Linked DNA regions of Homo sapiens: region 1 is linked to region 2. The links are contacts of gene promoters, found by promoter capture Hi-C in blood cells and fetal thymus (Javierre and others, 2016). All regions are on one chromosome and are shown on one strand. Each heading gives the region's core, a stretch centred on a gene start or on the middle of the fragment in contact. The rest is flanking DNA. Distances are from core to core; before and after follow the strand shown. Region 1 overlaps OBI1-AS1 (OBI1 antisense RNA 1). Region 2 holds the start of RBM26 (RNA binding motif protein 26).

Region 1 (2,700 bases), core at 8-2,507, 1.3 Mb before region 2:
TACTTTAGTCTTGGCATGGACACATACCAGGATGACTCAACTTGGGTGACATAACCCCTGTGAACCTTGGTTCCTACTGTAAGATGGGAAGGATCATATTTAACTTATGTAGTTGCTGTAAGGGTAAAATAATGTGAAAGAGTTGTGAAAATTGATAAGTACGGGACAATATAACATTATTATTAGTGTGTAGTGATAAGTTTAATTTAAACACATGATTGTACAACTCTGCTTGGAAGAAGTTGCTGTGAAACTATTAAAGTATGGCTGACATTCTCCAACCATCTGACTTAAAATTTCCAAAATTAATTTTCACTGGGCAATGCCTCTGAAATATATCTTTTCCTTGATTTATTTATATAGAACAACAGAATTATCTGTTCTAGTTAGATAAAAATTTCTAAGAATCATTTAAAATTTACTCTGAAATTCCTTACTCTCTAATCTTAAAAGTCCTTGAATATATTAGTTTAACGTAGCTCTTTCATTAGTACACCACTTCCATACTGAACTGATGACAATGCTTATTTTAAAGCTTTTGTAATGCTTAAAAACATGCCTAGATCTTCAAAATTATGGTCACCATTTTGTTCTGTAATATTGTGTTTGTCTTCTATGAAAACCTGCCACATTCAATAGCCATATGTATGTTAATGAAAGAATAATAATGACAACTAATAGAACACAAGATGTGTCAGTGTACGACTATCAGAGCAAAATCAAAACAAAACTGCATAAAGACATTATGAATCTGGATCTGAAGCTTCTTGGTTCTTAACTAGTTTTATGTTAATGAAACAATTATTAGAACACACAAAACCCTTCCTTTTTAATTTGATAAATTGAGTGGTGATGTGAGTTAATTGAACCATCGGTGTGATAATAAGATGCAACTGGTATGATTTATCAGAGGATGACATGGTTACAGGCATTGCTTCCACAGAAAATAATGGCTGTTATTACCACTTCCTGAGGTGAGCAGGCAAGCCATAAACCTAGCTTATTGCTACACAGGTCAGAGGATGAGGGGTCCATTTTGCCTTTTGTCTTAGTGGATCCTTTAAGGCTGTCTCTTAATAATTTGGAAAATATTTTTCCATATTCCACAAACAATATCAATACTGACTTTGTTTAGGCTATTCTATAATCTTAACCTATTTAGCTAAGTATTAAAGTGAAAAACCCCTAGATCTCCAAGAGCTTTGAGTTCTAATGTTAGTAATTAAGGGGTCACCTTGGGTCTTCTTTTTCAAGTTGCATTATCTTGTAGAGATATTTTCGCAAGTGGTTATTCTAGTGGAATAATCCTCCAGGGCTCTGCCGCTTGAGAAGTAAGTCCTGTGCTTTTTCATATATGATTCAGAGAGAATATTACATGCTACTCATCTTCTGGTGGAAGAGAAAGAAATAAGTGATCACAAAGCCCTTTGGTTTGCAAAGAAAACATTTGAATTTACAATGTTATATTTCTTTGTATCCCAATGACTTCAAAGTAAATAAAAAGTAAATCAATGTCACTGGATCCATGAAATATATGTATCTGGACATGGGATCTATTTCTGCCACATAGTGATATTAGGAAAAACACTTGCCATATGTTCATACTATGAAAAATTAATCCAAGATCTTGGAAAGAGCTTGTGCCTATGCTGAAAAGGTTATATCTTAAAATACTAATAAAATCTTCATTCTTCATTAATCTTTTATTCATTTATTGGATTTCTCATTTTTAACCTCCATTTGTACATTTTTCAAGCTTTTTTATACACACAGCCACATATGTTCATTTAATTCTTAAAACCATTCTGAAGTTGACATGTCATCATATAATTTATTATAGAAAATGAGGAGCTCTTGAAAAGAGGAAGGTCTTGTTAATTAATCCGAGACAACAAGTATAAGCCAGGACTTCTCTGAGATCAGAGAATACAGTCACTCTAGGTAAGAAATTCATCAAAATTTTAAAAATTCACCAAAGAAATACAGTGGGAAAGTGACAGAGCCAGAATTTGGTTCCATGCTTTTAGGACCTAACATTTTCTAACAGTCCTTCCCAACAGATTTTGGGATTTCCTGATTTACTAATTTGAAATGATTAGAGGGAGAGAAGTCAGGGATCCCGGCCTGCAAAAATATTAATGCAAAGTAGATACTATGTCTTATATATCTTCAGGTATTTAACTTGAAACCCACCTGGTCTTCAGTGAACATTTGTGCATCTCAACCAAATCATACCACTTGACACTTCACCATTTTGGATATATTCCTTTAGATGGTAAGGAGCTTTCTGTTTTCAAAAGTCAATGAATAGAAAAACAATATACCCCCCCACACACACATATATTTTATATATCTATATATCTATACTCATACACTCAGATCAGCCCTTCCTTCATTGTCTGTTAATCTTGGTTTGCAAAAATCTGCACATAAATTTTACGAAAAAATGATGACTGTCAGATATTTTCTAGGCTCAGAAGAGAACAGAATCACACTGTTTTGGGAGATAGGAAAAGGGCAACAGCTTTGGTCTATTTAACCATTCTTCAAATAGTTATTATGCCAGTTTTAACCTTGTCCATTTTCACACCTTTACTGGCTGCACAGACAATGCTAATTGGAAACATTTTGTTTGTAGGACCTTCTGGTCTAGGTGGAAATTTTAATTTGTTTAACCACACTTAATTATGAAATACATCA
Region 2 (2,700 bases), core at 127-2,626:
AAAGCCTCCCGTAGTATACAGTAGGTACCTAATAACTTTATTAAATACGTGAATTTTCCCCATTGCATTATTGTAAATCAACCAATTCTGATTAAGCACTTTGGTCCATGTCATATTTTGTATTAACAAGTCGTCAAAACACTCCTTAAATTTTCCAATCTAAGACTATTTCAGCACTCTAACCGCAGCCCCCAACACAAAATCTATCTATAGCATCCCACTTAAAACTGCTAAATATTCCATATGGATGAAGATTCAATTTTCTTCCTCCTCTCCAAGCTAACGAACGCGTAGGCGGGAAAGGGGAATTTTACTGGCCACCTCAGCACCTGTTACATCTTCAATCAGTGAAGAGAGGTGCAGATGAGCCAGACAGCACATGGGAGACGTGGCCTTGCTTTCAGGAATTATATTTAGGTGAAACGTGAGTGATTTAAGCTAGAACTGCCCGAATCCCCAATAAAGGCCGTCTACTTCATTTAGAAAAACAAGGTAAAATAATCTGTAGGAAGTAAAATACAGTCGGTTTCACTAAAATAAACCGATTTTGAGGCCCCCGGAAAATATTGCGGGTGGGGGTTGGAGACGGTCTATATATAACGGGAAAACGAGAGCAGCTCAGCAATAAAATAAAGCTCGACTCAGGCTCTCGGGGGTATCCTGAATCTGGAAGCGAGGTGGACGAGGAGGAGAAGCCACAGAACCCTGGGACCTCCGTTCACCGCTTCGGCCTCCACCGCAGGCACTTGGGGAAACTGCACAGATCTCTGGGTCCGCCTATCTCCCACTGCCATCCCTGCAAAGAGATATCCCCCGGATACTCACATGGGCTCGAGAGTCTTGCTGAGCCAGGACTTGAGTGCCTCGAAGTTTTCAATGATCATTTTAGAAACCATCCACAGCGGCCCTAAGGCCCGTCACACTCCTCCGCCCGCCCAGGTCGCGGCCGCTACAGCCGCCGCTGCCCCCGCCCCCTCCTCCGCGCGCCGCCCGCGTGGGCCGCGGTGGGAGGCGCCGGTGGCAGGTTCCCGCGGGCCCCGGTCGGCGAACAGCTCTGCAAGGACCGCCGCAGGCCACAAGTGCACGGGGTGCCAGGAGCTCCCCGTCCCCGGCCCCCAGCCCGGGCTGAAACAGCAACGGTTTGCCCGGGCCCTCCCCCTTCCCTCTTCCCCAGCAAATCTACCCAGACCGGAAGCGCGACACGCGCTTAGACCCGAGCCTTCTCTCAGCCTCGGGACCAGGTGCTTGTTGGCTACGTCGAAAAGGCAAAAGTAAAGAAAGCGAAGGCGAAGGGCAGCTCAATGGGAACGATTCAGGGGGTCTTCCCGGCTCCCAGCACCCCCAAGAAGATGGCTGCCGGTAAATCTCGCGAGAATTGATGAAGTCTCGCGGTGGCTCCCGGAGCCTGCTGGGAGAGACGTAAGGTCGGCGGAGAATGCGCGGGTCGAGTGCTGTAGTTCGATTTTTGCGTGTGTGCGTTGCTTGCGGCCTTTGTGCCTTTTTATTCTTTGCTTACCTTTATGATATAAAGACCTTATTTCTTACAAGGAGGAAAAGACCGCTGACTTCAGAAACAGCGGGAACCCCAGCTCGTCCCCGGTAAGACGGCCGTGGCCTGTCAGCTGGAACGGTCCTGCCGGATGGATCGCTCTTTGAGAGCGTACACTCCCGCGTGCGCGACACCAGGCGGCCCGTAGGTTCCAGGTGCCGAGCACACTACCTCCTCAGTTTACCTAAGTGCCCTACCAGTATCATATTCTGTGTATGCTGTGATGTGAACGAGGTTTGTAAACACAGGCTGGTCTAATGGAGCCCAATGAGACCGCCAGAGGATTAGTGTCTTGTCCAACAGTACTTGACTTGCTGGTAGAGCCCTAATGACTGAGGGCTGCCCACAAGGGAAAGGTGAGAGAACCTTCACGTCTCTCAGGTAGTTTCCAGCCTGCACTTTCCCCCAGCTAAAGATAAGTTTTGTTATTTTTAAAATTCTCTTTATTTAGAGCAAATTCAGCCCTATCTCAGATCGGGAAATTATATAGTATCAAAAGAGAGAGTCTTCATATTAGCAACCCAAATAAATAAACTATTTTCCTGGGTGATCAAATAAGTTTGATTCCTGCTTGAGTTCTATTTAGATACTAGGTGGAATTTTACAAAGGGTCTACGTTCCATGAACTGTAATGGAATGAAAATATTCACAATCTAAAGACATTTTCAGTAAGTAGATCAATAAAAGCTCTTTATGAGAGACACCGATAGGCTAAATTGTTCTTAGGAACTCTTGAGTTTATAATTTGCTAGAGTGAAGTGTCTTTAAGGATTAGGTGGAAAGATTATGAACTACAAAGCAAGACATTTGTTTTAAAATACAGCATATAGAGTAGAATACAAATTAGAATCCAGCTACTGAATAACCAGGGTGTTGATTAAAGTGATTTAGCTGAGTGAAATAAACCAGACATGAAAGGACAAATATTATGATTCCACTTACATTAAGTACCTAGAGTAGTCAAAACTCCTAGAGACAGAAGGTGGAATGGTAGCAAGAGCAGGGGTGGAGAGGGTGCCCAGGAGAAGGGGAAATGAGGAGTTATATTTCAGTGGATAATAGAGTTTCAGTTTAGGATGATTTAGATTCTGGAGATGAGTGGTGTTGTGTGGGTTGCACAATATGAATGTACTTAATGCAGTGGACCATAT

The links. Contacts are between HindIII fragments. The CHiCAGO score rates a contact against its expected background, and 5 or more counts as called.
Region 1: a fragment that was not itself captured here is called in contact with the fragment with the promoter of RBM26 in region 2 in 1 of 17 cell types (total B cells); the score reaches 5.6 in total B cells.

The regions. Positions count from the first base shown.
Region 1 is chr13:78,144,515-78,147,214 of GRCh38, forward strand. The region is part of intron 1 of OBI1-AS1 (OBI1 antisense RNA 1); the gene reads left to right. Among named protein-coding and RNA genes, the nearest start is that of OBI1-AS1, 91 kb to the left of the region's middle. The HindIII fragment of the contact is 993 bases long and covers 762-1,754 here.
Region 2 is chr13:79,404,879-79,407,578 of GRCh38, forward strand. It overlaps RBM26 (RNA binding motif protein 26), which reads right to left and starts at 1,377. Exons shown (of 22, transcript NM_001366735.2): 1 at 826-1,377. The coding sequence starts at 896. It overlaps RBM26-AS1 (RBM26 antisense RNA 1), which reads left to right and starts at 1,431. Exons shown (of 7, transcript NR_038991.1): 1 at 1,431-1,599. RefSeq lists a silencer at 933-1,132 and enhancers at 1,042-2,033, 1,363-1,662. The HindIII fragment of the contact is 7,810 bases long and covers 1-2,700 here.